2 separate regions of the Homo sapiens genome follow, and region 1 is linked to region 2. Evidence: promoter capture Hi-C in human tissues and cell types (Jung and others, 2019). All regions are on one chromosome and are shown on one strand. The core of a region is centred on a gene start or on the middle of the fragment in contact, and the rest is flanking DNA. Distances in the headings are between cores, read along the strand shown. Region 1 holds the start of MIR181A2 (microRNA 181a-2). Region 2 holds the start of NR5A1 (nuclear receptor subfamily 5 group A member 1).

What was found. The method cuts DNA at HindIII sites, captures the fragments that hold promoters and counts their contacts. A contact is called where the count stands out against the background at its distance.
Region 1: a fragment that was not itself captured here is called in contact with the fragment with the promoter of NR5A1 in region 2 in 1 of the 25 tissues and cell types used here (H1 embryonic stem cells).

Annotation. Positions count from the first base shown.
Region 1 is chr9:124,691,712-124,695,839 of GRCh38, forward strand. All of the region lies in intron 2 of NR6A1 (nuclear receptor subfamily 6 group A member 1), which reads right to left. The region is part of intron 1 of MIR181A2HG (MIR181A2 host gene); the gene reads left to right. It overlaps MIR181A2 (microRNA 181a-2), which reads left to right and starts at 731; the gene lies at 731-840. It overlaps MIR181B2 (microRNA 181b-2), which reads left to right and starts at 1,999; the gene lies at 1,999-2,087. RefSeq lists an enhancer at 3,311-3,856. The HindIII fragment of the contact is 6,533 bases long and covers 1-4,128 here.
Region 2 is chr9:124,505,819-124,509,936 of GRCh38, forward strand. NR5A1 (nuclear receptor subfamily 5 group A member 1) reads right to left here and starts at 1,581. Exons shown (of 7, transcript NM_004959.5): 1 at 1,431-1,581. RefSeq lists an enhancer at 1-2,567, promoters at 1,338-1,661, 1,532-1,676 and a cis regulatory region at 1,658-1,663. The HindIII fragment of the contact is 26,734 bases long and covers 1-4,118 here.

The DNA of each region.
Region 1 (4,128 bases), core at 467-2,966, 190 kb after region 2:
TTTTTCAATATGGAAAATAGCTTGTGGACTATCACTAACACCTCTGTGGTAACTTAGTAATGCAGGATCTCAGCAAAGGAGATCATCAATCATGGAGGTCGAGGTTTTTCATCTTCCCCTATGACCTCACCTATAGACCTACCTGCTATTATTATAGGCAAACAAGTAGAAGAAATTTACATGTTTGACTTTGGCTCTGCAGTGATGGGTCTACTCCTAGATATCAACAGTAAGTTCTGTAGTAGACAACAGAAGCAGTATGATGAGTGAGCACTGGAAACATGAAGTCCAGTATTCAAATTCTGGCTTATAACCTTGGCTCCTGGCAATGTAACTTTAGGCAAATCACTTCAAGTTTTTTCATCAGGAAAATGTGGGTTGTTGAGAATTTAATGAGATAAAATATACAAATCCTAGTATATAGCAGATCCCCAATATATGTTAATCTCTTACCCTTGTTAACAATTAAAATACTACTGCAAAATCAGGTATTTTACATTTTTAGAATCACAAAATAATACCATTCAAAGACATTTTCTCAGACATTCATTTGAGTCTGCTTGTACAAATTACTGCACAGTCTATCCCACAGTTCATTAGTTCTCTGCTGCACACAAATTGATTTTATAATTTAAATACTCTCGACTTGAAACCCAGAGAGGAATGTAAGAGCATCCATCAGCGGTGGTCTCACTGCTCACTGGTTCTTGGGATGTGGATGGGAGAATGAAGAAGGGCTATCAGGCCAGCCTTCAGAGGACTCCAAGGAACATTCAACGCTGTCGGTGAGTTTGGGATTTGAAAAAACCACTGACCGTTGACTGTACCTTGGGGTCCTTACAGACGACACTACATTTCCTGAAGCAAAAGAGCAAGCTGTACCTTCACATGTCACATGAGTTCACCAGAAATGGTCCTGCAATCCCCCAAATGTGGTCCAGTGAATTTTATTCCTACTGCTCACTGTTCCTTGCTTTCTGTTGTGTGTTTTATTATTATTTGTTTGTTTTTACAAAAAAAGTGTTTCATTTCAACAAGGTAAGGAGCAGTCCATGATGATATCTAATGTACCTACATGTCTCCTAGATATGCACCATTCTGGTGAGAAACAGGACGTAGCAAGTAAAAATTTATTAAAAATACGTATTTTGTTTTGGAATAAAATCCAGTTAAATAATTACTCCCATTTCTCCCACATCCTCTCAAAATTTTTAATTAGGGGCAAGGGGAGGATTTAATAAGCAAAAATAGCACAAAATTATCCAATTGTGACAGTTCTTATCACATTTCACTTTGAATTATAGTTAATATGGTTAATTTTTGATATCCCAGTTAGAGCATGAGCTATTGCCTTACTAGTGCCCACATATCCCCACATATGCTTATTTAAATGTTTGCTAAATTCAAGCAAAAACTTAGCCCTGGAGTCAGTCAGATCTGGGATGAATCTTGGCTCAAGCCCTTAACTAGTTATTTGACCCCCTAAGCAAGTGTCTCAGTTTTCTCACATATAAAACAGAGGCTAAGAGTACCTATCATGGAGTTTTGAGACTCAATGAGATAATATATAAGGTGCTTTGTACCATTACTAGCCCACAGCAAATGCTCAATATATGTAAGCTGTTATTATTAAACTCCAACATAATCTGCTAATTTACCTCAAAAAAGCACTCATACTTCTCAGTTCAAAACAAAGAGGAAAAGCAGGTCCCTCAGCTGTGGTTTACAGGTACTAATATGCAAGCACTGCCTGTGTGGCGCAGTGCTACCTGTGAGGTTCTCCAAGCACTCCTTCCTTCTCTGAACCACAGCTTCCTCATCTGCAATAACCTCCCAGCTCCAATGTCAATGTTATGGACACCTGTGTGGGCCCTCAATCATGCAGATGGCTGGTTACTAAGGGAGAAGCCAGACACACAGACTTCAAAGAACTGAGATGGAAAAGAAGAGCCAGGAGTCAGCCAGGGAGGGCAAAGGCAACCCCACCAACTGAAAACACTGATGGCTGCACTCAACATTCATTGCTGTCGGTGGGTTTGAGTCTGAATCAACTCACTGATCAATGAATGCAAACTGCGGACCAAACAACCCAAAGGAAGCAAAAGCATGTGCAGAGAGTCGCCTGAGTGCAGCAGCTACTGCTGTGAGTGGGAGCTGCTACTATTTCCAAAACACTAGCTAAAGCTTTTCTTGTTCTCCTTGGTTCTAACATGGAGTAAGTTCTCTAAATTCCTAGTACTTTTCTCCTTTTTCAATAGTCTAGATTTAAGGAAATGATATTTTATAGGAAGAATTAAATACATATCTGGATATCACATCACATTTTAAAAATCAGTACATTCAGAATTTCTAAACAGAATCATATGCTTATTATTTAGAAATTCAAATACAAAAATATACAAAGTAAAAATTGAAAATCCCTTCAATCATCATCTGCAATCCATTTCCTCGGAGGAAAACATGTATAATTATAATAAACTTATTAAGATAATAAATATCATAACTAGAATTTATTTTATATCCTTGAAGACCTTTATCCATACATACACAGATAAATAGCTGTAATTTTGCATGTTTTGGGGGGAGAGTGGCTTAGACAAAAATAAGCTCATTTTTACCTATTGTTCTATAATCTATTTTGTTATTCAGCTATATATCATAGACTTCCACAACAGTCTTTTATGTACTCGTCATTCTTTTAAATGGCTATATAGTATGACTTAATATGAATGTTCTGGTTATTATTCAGATGTACATCAATATTCTCTTTTGACAAAAACTATGAGGCTCATTCATTCTAACCTTTGCAAACCATGTCCCTCAAACAGGAAAAACACCTAAGTGAGATAGAAGATGTACATTTTTCTTAACAAAAAATTTAAATGTAGTATCAACTCTCTAAATCCTGTAACATGAGATAAGCCACTAAATCCCATGTTAAAGAAAGAAAAACAAGGCCCTTGGTCATGAATAATTTATCATACACTTAAGTCTAAGAAGAAGCAGATTCTCATAGCAAAAGTCAAATAAGACAGTAAGAGAAGAGTCTTGTCAAATTAGCCTTGACAATTAAGCAAGCCTTAATTTGACAAGGCTTTCCTGTCAAATTAGGAAGGAGAAGTGATGGGGTAATGAGACAAGAACCAGAAAGAGAAATCAAAGCCAAAAGAAAAATCTAAAGAAAACTATGAGAGTTCAGAGAAAATATCAGGTTCAAGCCAGTGTTTCCCAAACTTCTTGTACACCAGAATCATCTAGAGTTGCTTTTAAAATGGCAAATTCCTGAGCCCTACTCTAGACGAGGTGATTTTGGGTCACTGGAAGCTGGAAGCAAAGTAAATAAAGTTCACTAGCTTAACATCGGCTTCCTGCCCCCATCCCACCACCACATTTCATGTCATCCACTTTTCAACTATTGCCCAACCTTTTGTGTCACCACCTGAAATCGCCACTATTCTGCTGAGTGCAGACAGGTAGAGTCACATTTGTGCTGCTTTTAAGTATCTCCAGACTACATAAAATTTTGCACCATGTTTGGTGGCCAAATATACATCAAATTGTGTCTGATGTTTTATGGAAATGAATGGATTTGGATTTACGCTATCTAAAAAACTAAAACCTACCCAAAGAAATTACCAAAAGGTTTTTTTGTGTGTGTTTTTCTTTCGTTTGTTTGTTTTTTTGAGACAGTCTTGCTCTGTTTCCCAGGCTGGAGTACAGTGATGCGATCTCGGCTCACTGCAACCTCTGCTTCCTGGGTTCAAGTGATTCTCGTGCCTCAGCCTCTCAAGTAGCTGGCCCGCCACCACACCCAGTCAATTTTTGTGTTTTTAGAAGAAATGTGTTTTTAGTAGAGCCATGTTGGCCAGGCTGGTCTCAGACTCCTGACCTCAAGTGATCCGCCCGCCTCGGCCGCCCAAATTGCTGGGATTATAGGCATGAGTCACCGCGCCCGGCCCGAGGGGGTCTTTATAGAAGAGTTTTTTGTGAGACTGGTAGACACACAGAAGGTACTCCACGCAGTCTTGTTTTTCAAGATGCTGTGCATTCTAGGCATTTATTTTTAACCAATTATTTCCAAAATTTCTGAAAACATTAGAAAAGAATGTCTGACACGTACTTTGAAAA
Region 2 (4,118 bases), core at 331-2,830:
AGGGGTTCCCGGGCCTATGGGCCAAGCAGTTGCTCTGGGCTAGGGACCATCCGCGGGGCCACTGTTTTTCAGCTGGAGAAACGGACCCGAAAGGAAGGGGCCTGCTTGCATCCTGCCTCCGCCCCCGCTGGCACCTGGGGTCAGAGAGAGTTTGGGGACCATGAGGCCAAAAAGCTGCGATCTTCAAGCAGGAAAATACCGCAATTTTGCATTGACAGCGGCGCAACCCACCAAAAGGCTCCATCTGGGCTCCCGCCCGCCTGGAGGCCTCGGGCTTCGGTTGGAGCTGGGCCTGGGGCCTGCAAGTTGTGGCCAGAGAACCCCCCGCGCAGACCGCACTCAGCTGGCTCACCCACAGAAGGAGCAGAACCCGCAGACTAGCTGTGCAAGCTCGGGCAAGTCACTTCTCCTCTCTGAAACGAGAGCCTCAGTTTTCTCCGAGCATAAAGTGGAACATGTTGGCTTTACAGATGGGGTACTGCGGTTTCCATGCAAGAATCTTGGATGAGGAGGGAAGAAAGAGCCAGAGACCCTGTTAATCGTACCCCCCGCACCCCCAAACCCCTGAGAAACAAGAGCATCTGCCCGAGCTGGAGGTGGGGGTCACTGCCGCCTCTGAACAGCTCCCCACCACAATGGAGCCCTCAGACAGTGACTGCAGGAGGGAAGGGGGTTGGTGGATGATGGGCTGGGGTGCCCCAGTTGGCTGTTCTAAGGTAGAGCTCACCCGAGGTCTCCTGGAAACCTGGAGCTGGACACACAGGCCCCAGCCGCCGGGGTTGGGTGGGGGCTGGGCTCAGGCCCTTCTCCCTCTATCTCCAATCCCCTCTCCCCAAGGGTTTCTACTCTCACCGGCTGGAAGCCCATGGCTCCTCTGCACTCCAGGCTCCGAGGCACCCACCCCCACAGGTTCCAGGTTCCAGCCCACCGCCTGGGGAGTTCCAGCCCCTCATCCACCCACCCAGGGAGGGAAGCCTAGACCTGGCCCGGCCGCAGAACCCAGGCTGACAGATGGATGCCGGAGACAGACACACGGATACACAGCAAGACTCAGAGAGAGCCACAGAGACAACACAGAAACTCAGGTGGGGGACAGAGCCCCAAGACAGGCCCAGAGCCCTCCAGACACACTCACAGACCTCTAGGCTCAGACCCACACAGCCTGGTGGATGCCTGGCCAGAGACAGCGGGACACCAGCGGACCTCCATGGGGCTTGTGGTCACAGGCCTGGCTCCTCCCATCGGCAGCCCAGGGAAGAAGAGGGGGTAGCATGGTGGGAGGGTGAGTCTGGGAGACCCCTGGCACCTTCCCTGCCCAGAGCAGGGGGCACCGGTCACTAAGTGGAGCAGGCAGTGGCCGGCCCAGGCTGCAGGGAGGCACTGCAGAAGGAGGCTGGCCATTAGAGGCCTGGGCCAAGGCCCTCACTTACGAAGCGGAAGCAGCGCTCTCACACCGGATGAGGGTGGCAGTGGGCACCAGGGGTCCAGGGGGAGGCTCCGGCAGCCCAGGTGGGACGGTGGCGACTGTGGGTGCGCAGAAACCCCCTCACACCACGGCGGGCGGCAGCCGGACAGCAGGCTGGCCCTGTCCGTCCGTCCTCCTCCTCCTCCCCGCCCTGGTGGGGGGGCCACCGGAGGCCCAATTGGTCTCTGCCCCCACGTGACTCTGCAGGCCTCTCGCCTTCTTTGTTGGTGTTTCTCTTCATTTACGTCTATTTTTTCTTCTTCTCCTAAAAGAAAAAAAATACCCCTATCTATCTGGGGGCTGAGGGTGGGGGCGGAGGCCAAGGCACTGCAGAGGCCTTGGCCAGCTGGCTGTTCCAGGCCCGCTGTGGGAGCCCAGAGGCAGGGACCCCACAGAGGCGGGTAGGCAGCCCCGCTTGTTAGAAACCGGGTGGGAGTGGGGCTTGATTTATGGGCTGCTCCCCCACCCGGCCTGCCGCCTGCTCCTCTCTCCTTGTGAATGGCTACCTCCCTGGGGCCTGGCCTGGCATGGTCTGGCCCAGCCCGGACATTGGAGTAGAGTCAGGACAGGCCAGTGCGGAGGCAAGGCCATGGCGACTTGACTAGGCGGCCTGCTGCTTCCACCTCTTTTTCCTCTTCCATCAGGTGGAAGAAGAGGGGGGCCGGAAGGGGAGCAGGTGAGCGGCCTGGACACCTGGTGCGTGCATGCCACGGTGGCCTCTGAATGTCCTCATCTGCTGTGGGCTGCTGATGTTCCCAGTCGATGGCTGGAAAAACTGAGGCTGGGCTGAGACTGCCTCTGAGGCCAAGTGGTGGCTATAGTGGCCCCAGGTTGAACCAAGTATGAAGCTAGTCCAGGATAGGACAGGGTAGCAGGAAGGGGCCCTTATCTAGAAGGCTAGGCCTCCCTAGACAACCTGGGACGTCCCCATCCAATCTCTGGGCCCAGATGGGCTCTGAAATATCCTGTTCCTGTAGGGCCCGGGTTGCAGGGTGTTGTGCCGCTCCCACGGTGACTGGATCTTTTGTGTGTTCCTCTGTTTGTCTCACATTTACTGAGCGCACACTTAGGGGTCAGGCACTGTTCCAGGCACCAGGGATCCCATAGGAAAGAGAAGAAAAGTCTCTGTCCTCAGAGGATTTACCTCCGTGCCTTTCATCTTGGGAGAGCAGGGAGGGGCACAGGGTGACTATGGGGCAGTCACTGTTGAGAACCACCCCTCCTCCCACATATCCCTTCATTGGAGGAAATAAATAAATCACACCCAACACCTCACTTATCTGGAACAAGAGGGACTTTTCTGGATAAGTGAAGTGAAGCCAACTCTCCCTATATATATTTTTTCATGGAAGGCCACTGAAAAAGTAGAAACGCCAACTATATTTAAAACCTATGTGTTTTCCAGCCAGTCACTGTGGCTCATGCCTGTAATCCCAGCACTTTGGGAGGCCAAGGTGGGCGGATCACCTGAGGTCAAGAAGTTCAAGACAAGCCTGGCCAACATGGCAAAACGCCATCTCTACTAAAAAATAGAAAAATTCACCTGGTGTGGTGGCTTGTGCCTGTAGTCCCAGCTACTTGGGAAGCTGAGGCAGGAGGATCGCTTGAACCTGGGAGGCAGAGGTTGCAGTGAGCCAAGATTGTGCTACTGCAGTCCAGCCTGGGCGACAGAGTGAGACTCCGTCTCAAATAAAATAAAATAAAATAAAATAAAATAAAATAAAATAAAATAAAACCTAGTGTGTGTTTTCCTCATTATGCCACTTAAAATTGTGTGTGAACATACAACAATAATACTGATAGACTGTAGTCCCGGCTACTCGGGAGGCTGAGGCAGGAGGATGGTTTGAACCCAGGAGTTGGAGCTGCAGTGAGCTATGATTGTGCCACTGCACTCTAGCCCGGGCAATAGGGTTTTAATAATTAATAATCATTAATTCAATAATAATAATTTTTATAATATAATTTCACCAACAGTCATAGCTAACTGATCGAATATATTCCACCTACAACGTAACAGACAACTTATTCCTCAATGTGCATGACCTTGTAATTATGTCTTTTTCACCTAGAGAAGTTCTTACAAGATATACTTCTCTTGCATATGGCTGAACCTAACTAGTCTCCCTATTTTAATATTCTTTTTTTAGTGTCCCTATTTTGTTTTATGTCTTTTGAGACAGGGTCTTGCTCTGTTACTCAGACTGGAGTGCAGTGGTACCATCATAGCTCACTGTAGCCTCGACCTCCTGGGCTCAAGCAATCCTCCTCCCTCAGTCTCCTGAATAGCTGAGACTACAGGCACATGCCACCACACCTGGCTAAGTTTTGTATTTTCTTTTGTAGAGATGGGGTTTCGCCATGCTGCCCAGGCTAGTCTTGAACTCCTGGGCTCAAGAAATCGGCCGCCTCGGCCTCCCAAAGTGCTGAGATTACAGGCGTAAGCCACAGCACCTGGCCTTAGTGTCCCTATTTTTTTTTTTTTTTTTTTTTTTTGAGATGGAGTCTCACTTTGTTGCCCAGGCTGGAGTGCAGTGGCACAATTTCAGCTCACTGCAACCTCCGCCTCCTGGGTTCAAGCAATTCTCCTGTCTCAGCCTCCCAAGTAGCTGGGATTACAGGCACCCGCCACCGCACCCGGCTAATTTTTGTA